Linked DNA regions of Homo sapiens: all the other regions are linked to region 1. The links are contacts of gene promoters, found by promoter capture Hi-C in blood cells and fetal thymus (Javierre and others, 2016). All regions are on one chromosome and are shown on one strand. Each heading gives the region's core, a stretch centred on a gene start or on the middle of the fragment in contact. The rest is flanking DNA. Distances are from core to core; before and after follow the strand shown. Region 1 holds the start of PSD2 (pleckstrin and Sec7 domain containing 2). Region 2 overlaps NRG2 (neuregulin 2). Region 3 overlaps NRG2 (neuregulin 2).

The links. The method cuts DNA at HindIII sites, captures the fragments that hold promoters and counts their contacts. A CHiCAGO score of 5 or more calls a contact.
Region 2: a contact is called between a fragment that was not itself captured here and the fragment with the promoter of PSD2 in region 1, in 9 of 17 cell types (M1 macrophages, naive CD8 T cells, M0 macrophages and 6 more). The highest score is 6.7, in M1 macrophages.
Region 3: a fragment that was not itself captured here is called in contact with the fragment with the promoter of PSD2 in region 1 in 1 of 17 cell types (M2 macrophages); the score reaches 6.0 in M2 macrophages.

Annotation. Positions count from the first base shown.
Region 1 is chr5:139,793,610-139,797,067 of GRCh38, forward strand. It overlaps PSD2 (pleckstrin and Sec7 domain containing 2), which reads left to right and starts at 2,199. Exons shown (of 15, transcript NM_032289.4): 1 at 2,199-2,366. RefSeq lists a silencer at 1,718-1,917. The HindIII fragment of the contact is 8,840 bases long and covers 1-3,458 here.
Region 2 is chr5:139,864,350-139,867,628 of GRCh38, forward strand. It overlaps NRG2 (neuregulin 2), which reads right to left. Exons shown (of 10, transcript NM_004883.3): 5 at 1,200-1,276. Among named protein-coding and RNA genes, the nearest start is that of PSD2, 70 kb to the left of the region's middle. The HindIII fragment of the contact is 942 bases long and covers 1,155-2,096 here.
Region 3 is chr5:139,914,549-139,917,902 of GRCh38, forward strand. All of the region lies in intron 1 of NRG2 (neuregulin 2), which reads right to left. Among named protein-coding and RNA genes, the nearest start is that of PSD2, 120 kb to the left of the region's middle. The HindIII fragment of the contact is 537 bases long and covers 1,785-2,321 here.

The sequences.
Region 1 (3,458 bases), core at 949-3,448:
TTTCCCCTTTCCCTGTTCTTTCCTTCCACATAATTTATTAAGCCATGCTGAGTGTTAGGTGCTGAGGATACACTGTGAACCCTTTCAAGGGGCTCAGAGTCCATCCAGTGGACAACAATTAAATAGTGCATTCCATGAGTAAGTAATCATTACAGCTGGAACAGCCATGGCCCATTGAGTGCATCTGTGTGCCAGGTCTTGAGCACATCAGCTCTTTCGGTCCCCATCCTAGCCTCACAAAGAGGGGGACTGCTACCATCCTCATTGGGCAGATGAGGAAGTAGGAGCCCAGAAAGGTGGTCCAGCTGTGACTTGAGGGCATGGGTGCCAAGGGTGGGGAATGTGGTATCTAAGCCCTGCCATGAGCACTTCCCTCCACAGCCCCTGCTGGTCGCCACCCTTCTCTGCCTACAGGTAGCAGAGGGCAGGGGGGTAGAATGCAGGACAGCAGGGAAGCCAAGCTCCCTCTGTGCCCTTTAAGATCCTGGGCACCTGCACAGAGAGTGGCTCCCTTGTTTCTGGGCTCTGCGGTAATGTCCTAGGGTTTGATGGGCAGTGAAGGATGTGGTCTGAGTGCCCTCTTAATTGACCAGCTGTGCTCACAGATTCAGATCTCCTGGGATCATGAGCAAGTGACTTATGCTCTCCAAGTCTCAGTTTTCTCATCTGTAAAACGGGTTGTAGGATTGTTTTGAGAATTAAATATGACACATGAAGAGCACTTGGTAGATGCTTGGTTGTCAGAGGTGTCACCATGGTTGATGAAGTCCCAGCTCCTGCTGTTGCCCAGCTTGAAGGGAGGGAGACTACGCACAGCTCAGATTCCACACCTCCAATTACTGCCACCCTAAGAGGTCAGCAAATCCTCTTCCTGCTCCCTAAGAAGAGTCCATGTTTGTGTGTTCATGGGTGGAAAGAAGGTCAGAGAAGACTTCATGAAGGAAGGGGCATTTAAGGAGGAATTTGAGGGTTCAGTAGGAGTTCACTGAGCACAGCAGGATCAAGGCCCCACCGGGCAGAGTGTGGATCATCTGCTGAGGTCTGGAGATGGAAGCAACTGGGTGTGGTGAACCCCCCAGGGGCTGGAGTAGGGGAGAGGGGTAGAAAGTGGCCTCCAGTGGCAGGGCCTGACTCTATCCTGATTTCCCTTCTCCCAGGCACTGGGCCTGCTCCCCACGCCCTCCTTAGATCCCTGTGGGTGGGGGCCCTTTAATGCCTCTCTGAGAGGCGGACTCTTACTCTGCAGGTGCCTCACAGCCAGGAAGTTCTTAATGTCTAGCCCAGGTACAGCCAGTCAACCCTCTTCTTCAGTTAGAGTCCTGGGCTGAGGGGGGCGGCTTCAGGGCCTTGACTTGCCCTTGGGGAGACACCGTGGGACAGGTGCCTTGGGAGATGGTTTCCTCTGCCCAGGGCACCCTCTGTCTCTCTCTGTCTCCTTATATCTGCCCAGGGAGGCTTCCCCTTGACCTGGCACAGGGATGTGGATTCTTGGTTGGACCCACCCCTCACCTCCCGCCTCCCTCAGGTTCTTTCTCCTTTGTCTCTTTCTCCTCTCTCCTGCCTCCTCCCATCCCACTCTGTCCCGAGGCTCCTTCTCACCCCACAGCCCAGGTCTCCGTCCCGTCCCGTGTGACTCTAGGTCTCAGGGGCTCAGTCTCCCTCTCTGAGATTCTTCACCTTGGCCCCCCGCACTCCCTGCTCCTCCCTTGGCGGCGTCTCCCGGGGGCTGGCGTGTGTGTCGGGGGGCTGGGGGCAGGGGTCACTCCCTGAACAGACCGCGGGAGGAGGGCCAGGACCCGCCCCCTCCTTCACCTCCAGGGCCTGGCGGGTCCCGAGAGCTCAGGTTCTAGACCGGTGGGTCCTGCCTGGAGGGCGGAGGTGGTTGGGTCTGCCCGAGGGTTCGAGGACGGCAGGGGCCCAGCGTGGCTAGGAGGGGGCAGAACCCCGGGCGCTCCCCTCCCCCCCTTTCTTAAAGGGCCCGCGCGGGGCAGAGGGGGACAAGGTGGGCCGCGCTCTCCCCGGCACGCTCGGGGTCCCGGGGCGAGCGCTGCGCTGCAAGCGGACAGGGCTGGGGGCCGCGCTTCCCTCCGGGCTCCGCGCCCGCCGCTCGCGCGCCCGCAGTGCCCCCGCCCTTCCCCGCCCTTCCCGCTCCTCCCTCCTCCTCCTCCTCCAGCTCACGGCTCCGCTCCCTCCCTCCTGCCGTCCGTCCCCCTCGCTCAGCCTCTCCACATCGCGGCTCCGGCACCTGAAGGGACGCGGGCGGGCGCGGGCAGCTCCGACCGGCGGCGGCGGGGCGGGACAGGCAGCCCGGCGGCCTCCGATGGCCCCGCCGTGAGAGGCCGGACCCGCGGCGGGGACCAGCAGCGGTGAGTGGGGCCGCGGGGCTCCGGGACCCGCCCCTCCCCGCTGGCGGCCAGGCCGGGGCGGGACGGGCCGGGGAGAGGGCCGCGTGCGGGTGGGGGGCGTCGCCCTCGCCCTCGGTGCCCACCCGGGTCCGCTAACAAAGCTACATTTCCAGATCAATTCCGCGGCGTCTGGAGCATCCGAAGGATACGGTTGTCATGGAGATGGGGCCGAGAGAGGAAGCCCGGGCTGGCCGGGTCTGGGCCGGGGAGAGGGGGCGCCGCGGGAAAGCCCGAGCCCAGCCTGAGGGACGGTGGGGGCTGCCGGGCCGATTGTCTCCCGGCTCCGCCACCCACTACCCTCTCCCCGCTTTTGTATAATCTGGGGGTACGCGTGTGCGTGGGGGGTGCCAGTGGCAGCCTGGTGGTCGGGGATCGGGGCATTGGGTACCGGGGCCTGCCGGCAGCCACCTTCACGAGGCTGCAGCTTTGAGGATTTATTTCTGTTTCCAGTTTCCCAACTTTGACAGCCCTGCTTGGCGGCCAGGCCTCCCCGGCTCTGCAGCTAGAGCGGGGGCTCGCACGGGGGCGTGGCAGTCAGGGCTGAGGAGGCACATAATGGCCGAGGCGGCAGCGGGAGGGAGGGGTCCCAGGAGCGGGCTGCTGGGGCTGGGTGCAGAGGGAGTCCAGACTGGGGACAACCCTGCCCAGCGGGCCCCCTCGGAGGAGGAGGTATTCAGCTGTTCCTAGAGGATGCAGGGACTCCCCGGAATGATCACTGGGGGCATTGTTTTTGCATAGGCCCAGGGGGCCACTGTCTCAAGCCCACCCCTTTGTCTTGGGGCCATCTTGGGGGGGCCAGGAAGAGAACAGGGAGCAGAAGCAGCAGTCACAATGGAAGAGGGCCTAAGACTCCTGGCAGCCTGGGGATAAGCCAGGCTGAATTTGATGGGGATCAGCGAGAGGGCTCAGGATTTGGCCAGGGCAGGTGGGCAGCCTGGGTTTGGACTTTCCTGGGTTCCCCAGTTCCTTTTTCTAGATCCTACAAACAAGAGCTGCTTAATAGTGGTTGGGGGTGGGGGGGTTCACTGGGCTGGGACTGCCTCCAAACCCAAC
Region 2 (3,279 bases), core at 376-2,875, 70 kb after region 1:
CTCACTTTTCTTTCTTTCTTCTCCTTCTTCTTCTTCTTTTTTTTTTTTTTTTGCAAACTGTGCAAAAGGGAAAGCTCCAACCTCATAAGTTGAAGAAAGGAAGGGAATAAAATCCTAGATGGGAGGATTCAGACCACAGAGGTGCTGAGAGAGTCACCAGTTACCCCTCAATTCCTCATTTCCTCAACTTTTTAGCATCTCCAGCACCAACCCCCGCCCCCTCTCCCACCATCCTGTAGCCACATAAATATCTCTGGTATTCATGGAAATCATTGCCCTGGGTCCTGCTCTCCCTTAATTCCCCTTCCTTCCCTCTACCCCATTTCCAAACCCTCAAAACAAACAAACTCTGGCCAGACTGGAAAATGGGCTTTCTGAGAACTTTTTTTCTCTCTCAAACACGTCGGCACACACACACACACACACACACTCACTGCCAGACCCTTTGGTACCCTCAGGCAGCCTTCGGAGCAGGGGAGGGCTCTGCAAATGCTTCCTCCCATTCTGGCCAGGCTGCCCGACCCCAGAAGTTGGGAGGAGGCCTGGGTGTGGCCCTGGCTGCTGCAGAGAGAACTTGGCATTACTGTGCCCAGGAGGTACAGCCCACATGTGGAGGTGGGGGTGCCGGGGGTGTTTCCGTCTCCTCTAAGGAGCGCAGGACACCCTCTACATCTCCCCCTAGTCTTGCTAAGCAAGGCCCCATCCCTCCCCAGGGGGAGACTGTCAGTCACCAGGGAAGAGAAGAAATAGAAGAAAGAGACATACTGGAGAAGTTGACCATTGCGAACTGCTGACACCTGTCCCCGGTGTATCCCACAGGACACCTACCAAAAGAAAGAAAACCAGAAAGAGAGAGCCAGGATAGCAAGACACAGGCATTGCAACACCCCGGCACGGGCTCCTGCCAATGCCAGCTGGGTTCCTTGCCACCGTTACCATTTGTATTGGCCTTGCCACTCTGCCCCTTACCTGCAGCCCTGAACTTTAAACCCAAGGATTAGGCCAAAAATGAAAACAAAGCAAAACAAAACAAAACAAAAAGAACTAACAAACCAAAATACAAAAAAGAAAAGAGAAACAAAACAAAACAGCCAAAGATCAAAACAACCAACACCCCTGGCCCTATGCCCTACATTGGGGGGACTGCACCCAGAAGCTTTCTAAGGAGCAGGGACTTGTGTTTGTATCTTCAAACATACTTTGCTTAGGATCTGGCATGTACAATCGCAAAGGCAGTTTCTCCAAACATCTCTGTCCGAAGAATCCATTTGGACATCTGGAGAAGGAAAAGGGGAAAAATCACAGAACAAACTGGCATCATCCGCGAGGCTAAGGTTAGAAATCAAAGTGCACAGTGATGAATGAGAAAAACCAAGTCAGGCACTTGGGGTCATACTTGTAGCTGAAGGGACTGGAGTCAGGGCTGGGTGGAGGGCTCTGAAATCTCCTTAAAAATCTGTCTCATAGATGTGGCTCCATGGGTGGTGGGGAAGGTGGGGTGGGTCAGGGGGAGGATGATTTAGGTAAGTGGGGTGAGGGAAGATGGGAAATTGTCCTACTGGTCATTGAGACTTTCCTTCTTACCTGCCTGGTGCCCCATGAAGCAAGCACTGTGGCCTCTTGGTGCCAGGCAGTCAGTCAGCTGGCAGGGATCTGGGAGCCTTAAGGAATACCAAGTTCTTGGGAGCTACTCCTCCCAGGACCGACTGAAGGATTCTCTCCTGGGCCCTGGGCAGGTTTTCTCATCCAAGAAACAGCCCCCAGGAAACTCAGATAACTCGGGAATGCTGTTCCCAGACTGTGTATGTCTTTGACAAAAGTGACCTAAGAGATGTTTTATCTGTTCTTTCAAAGAGGGTTCTGTGGCCAAATCAATGTAGGAAATACATTCTCAGGGTGCCTTGTAGAGTTGCAGTGTACCTTCACCTATGAAAGACTATGAAAGTTTCATAGGAGGAAATAGCTGAACTTTCCATGTAAGTTCTCAAATTTATTTGTGTTTCAAATTTACTTCACCATGGATGTTGTTTTTTGAGGAACCCTTGTGGTAGAACATGGTTTGGAATAGGCTGCCCCAGTGTGATGTACATGGGAAAAGCTTAGTAGGGAAATGGGAAGTTGGAGAGGAGCTGGAATTATCAGCATCCCAAAGTGGGCCTTCCTGATACCAGGTGCAGGGAATCTGGCCTCAGGTAGCAAGGACCACAAAAGGGATTGGAGCAGGCTCGCTGGGGGACCCTGGAAGCCTGGTCCACATCAAGGTCCTAGTGGCAGCCAGCCTGCGAAACTCTTCCATTTCCCCATGACCTGTTTCTCCATCACTGCCTGGACCTGCCCTGGATCTCATTCTCTGATCTTGCCTTGCTTACAGCTCTAAAGCACCCCCCACTCAATCTCCCTGACCTTGTCTCTACCCACAGGGTACACGTTCTTCTGCTCTCTGGCTGCCAGCCCTCTCCTCAAGCGAATCTCAGATTTCTTGCAGAAGTCTTGCAAATTTCTGGAGGACATGCCCAGCCCTGTACTCTCTTCTGAACCCCGGCAAGGCTGGATACCTAAGGAGAAGCTTACAGGGAGGGCTAGACCCCTTCCCCACATCTCCCTACTCAGAGATGGGTCTATATTGCCTCTGCATCTTCTTCCTTAGGAAATTAGCTAAGTTCATCACCAGTGTCCCCCTCAATAATAGGCTACTGTTCAAAATTAATCAATGTAAACTTCCTCAAGAGGCAAGTGTACTCTATTTCTTAGCATTGCAGTATATAGCAACTGTCAGGAAGCCACTTAGGCTTACAGTAAGTGGCAGCCATTGGTTGTGACAGATACTCATGAACACCCTGTGACCTCAAATCTGGAGGAGTGGGGAATGGGAGTGGTAGTTGAGCAGAGGGCTAGAGTTTCTCTGGGCCTTGATGGCATCTCCCCCAGGGGAGGCAGGAGGTTTGTCCTGTAGTGGTAGGAGTGTGTGTGTGGGTATGCCTGGCTAATTGGGGGGTGGTGGAGGGCTGGGAAGTGTATCAGGGAAGTGGCATGGGTGGGAAGAGGGTACATGGTCGTCTTACTGAACAGGGTGGTTTGGAGGAGGAGACTGCCATCAGCCCCCTTGTCAACACATCCTTCTCTGATCCCTGGCCCTCGTCCCTATTCATCCCAGCTCAGGTAAATGGAGGTAGTGGCTAAGGCTTCCCAACCAGCTCAAGCTCTTCTTCCTTAGCTCTTGGAAACTGATGTCCACTTGTGATGGGGACTAGAGAGGGAGAAGTGATTTTCAAACATAAG
Region 3 (3,354 bases), core at 803-3,302, 120 kb after region 1:
AATTCCCCAGGACACTCCCACTCCATTCTCAACCTCTCTCATTCACTCATGCCTGTATACATACCTCATAGCCTCATTCCTCCTATCATATACCACCTGCCCATTACATAACTCTGTTTGGGATTATTTTTGCCCAGAGGTATGAGCTGCATTTCTGCATATTTAAGCTGTCTTTGATTCATTCCTGCCCGTTTCTTAGTTCTGTTTGCCCAGGTGCCCGCCCCACCCACTAGCTCTGAGGCCCCTGAAAACATGCCCATGTTGGGCTCAGCTTGCCCTACAGCTCCCAGTTCCTTCACTCCAGGTCTAAAGAAGTGGACACACAGCACCACTGGCTCCACTTAGGTGGGGGCCATTGTAGGCCCCCCAGCTGGTTACAGGGGCCACCACAACCTTGTACCTTCCATTGCTCTCTATTCTTCCCTCCCAGTGAGCCTTGGCCTTTGTCACCTCATCTTTCCCATCCTCAAGGTTGCGATCCCTGCACTCCCATACATGGCCCCAGGGTGTGGCTCCAGTAATTCAAGGGGGAAGGGGCTGTGGGAGAAAAGACCAAATTATAATTAATGGTTTGTTTCCCATTAAGCTTCTTTCAGACAAACCGGCTTAATGTAATTACGGAAATGGTTGCAAGGGGGCTCTTGTTGTGCTGTAAAATCATTATCTGACAATCATAATTTTATTTTTAAGAGCTTATTACCAAATAGGCTGTAAATGGCTTTCCAGCCTTCTCTTTTCCTACTGAGATGGGGTGATTTCGTGGACACAGTACAGAGGACAATGGGATTGGGAGAGCATTTCTGCTTGGGGTCACCAGTTGAAATGAGGATTCAATTCAGCAGTTTCCAGCCTCTGTAAGGAAGTGGCGCCAGCTAAGCTGCCAAGACTTGACAGGTTGGGTGGTGGCCAGGGTCCCCCAGGTCCTGCTTACATTCCACTGGTGCCTGATGCAGGCCCCTGATCTCTGGATTACCAGGAAGGATGCTGAATTCCTCAGAGGAGATTGCTACCAGGATTTTATTCCCAGTACTGCACTCTGACCAGGTGTCAGGCTGCACTGCCTGATCTACAGGTGTTTTCTCCGTATATTGTCTGTATATTCAGACAACTCTGAATATTGTCATTCAATTTACAAGTAGCAGAACTGTATAGCTTAAAAGATTATGAAAGGCTGTGTGGTAAATTCTAGACGATCAGCTAGTTAAAATGAAAGGAAGGATCATGGTGACATTTGTATCGCAAAAGATGAGCTGAGAGTACAGGAGATGCTTTCCTGGAATATGGGACAGCCTGGCAATGACACTGAGTGGGAATCCACAAAACAGGTTCAGAGAATGATGAATATTACATTTTGACTGACATGTAGGAAGTCATGGAGATAAGGCTAAAAAGACTGGGTGGGAACCAGGCTGCCCAGAGCACCTGGAGCTCATGCTAAGGGAATGAAAGGATATTGAAGGGTTCTGAGCAGGAAGGTGACCCAACCCAAACTATACTCTTGGAGGCTCATCCAGCAGCGTCATGCAGGGCAGAATGGAGCAGAGTCTGGAGGCAGCAAGATTGATCAGCAAAATGTTTAACAATGGGGTGTAGCCTGCAGCCTCTGTGGGGTGCTTGCTACAAATGCAAGTACCGATCCCACGAAAAACATTCTGAATTACAGTCTCTGGGGTGCAGCCAGGACTTGGTATTTGTAACTATTGTGAGGCAGACGGTATATGAAGCACACTTCGAGAAAACTGGTCCCAGAGAATCCAGTCCTCACTGCTCAACTTGGCATTTAAAGCTTTCTGTAAAATATCCCCACCATCAATTTTCCCCTTATAACTGCATTTTTAAGGTTAATTGGGATATAATTCACATGCCATGCAAATGACCCATTTAAAGTATATAATTCACTTTTGTGGTCTATTCACAGAACTGTGCAGCCATCACTGCAATAAGTTTTGGAACATTTTCATCATCCCCAAAAGAAACCTCGTACTCTTTAGCACCCCCTCCCCCTGCCATCCCCTTCATCCCCTGGCAACCACTGATTGACTTTCTGTCACCACAGATTTGCCTGTTCTGGAAACTTCATATAAATGGAATCATACAATCTGTGGCCTTTCTTGACTGCCTTCTTTCACTAGGTATAATGTTTTCCAGGTTCATCCATGTTGTAGCATGGATCAGTATTCATACCTTTTTTGTGGCCGAATAGTATTCCATTATATGTATATATACCAGATATTATTTATATGTTCATCAGTTGATGGACATTTGGATTGTTTCTACTTTTCGGCTATTACAAATAATACTTCTATGAACATTTGTGTATAAGCTTTTGTGTGGACATGTGCTTTCATTTATCTTGGGTATATATATTATCTGAAATCCCACTTGGAAGTAAGATTGCTCAGTCATATTGTAACTCTACGTTTAATCATTTGAGGAACTGCCAGATCGTTTTCCAAAGCAGCTGCACCATTTTGCATTCCCACCAGCAGTGTATGAGGGTTCCAGTCTCTCCACATTCTCATCAACACCTGTTATTATCTGACTTTTTGATTCTAGCTATCCCAATGGATGTGAAATGGTATCTTGTGATTTTTTTAAAAGCAGCTTTATTGAGGTATAATTCACATACCATACAATTCACCCATTTAAAGTGTACAATTCAATGGTTTTTGGAAAGTACATTACTTTATTGTCATTTTGTTTCATTTTTTTTGTTTTTTTGAGACAAGGTCTCACTCTGTCACCCAGGCTGGAGCACAGTGGTGTGATCACGGTTCACTGCAGCCTTGACCTCCCGGGCTCAAACGATCCTTCCACCTCAGCCTCTTGAGTAGCTGGGACTACAGGCATGCACCGCTGTGCCTGGCTAATTTTTGTATTTTTTGTAGAGACAGGGTTTTGCCACATTGCTCAGGCTGGTCTAGAACTCCTGGGCTCTAGTAATCTGCCCACCTCAGCCTCCCAAAGTGCTGGGATTACAGGTGTAAGCCACTGTCCCCAGCCTTATTATTGTTTTGATCTGTATTTCCCTGATAACTAATGATGTTGAGCATCTTTTTTTGTACATATTGGCCATTTGTATGTCTTCTTTGGGGAAATGTTTATTCAGATCCTTGACTCATTTTTTCCCCAGTTTTATTGAGGTATAATTGACAAATAAATTGAATATGTTCATTTTTAGTTGGGTCATTTATCTTTTTATAATTGAATTGTAAGAGCTCTTTATATATTATGGATACAACTCTCTTATCTGATAAAATTTTTGCAAAATTTTTCTCCCAATCTGTGGGTCGTCTTTTCACTTTCTTGATGGTATCCTTTGAAATGCAACATTTTTTAAAATTTTGATTAACT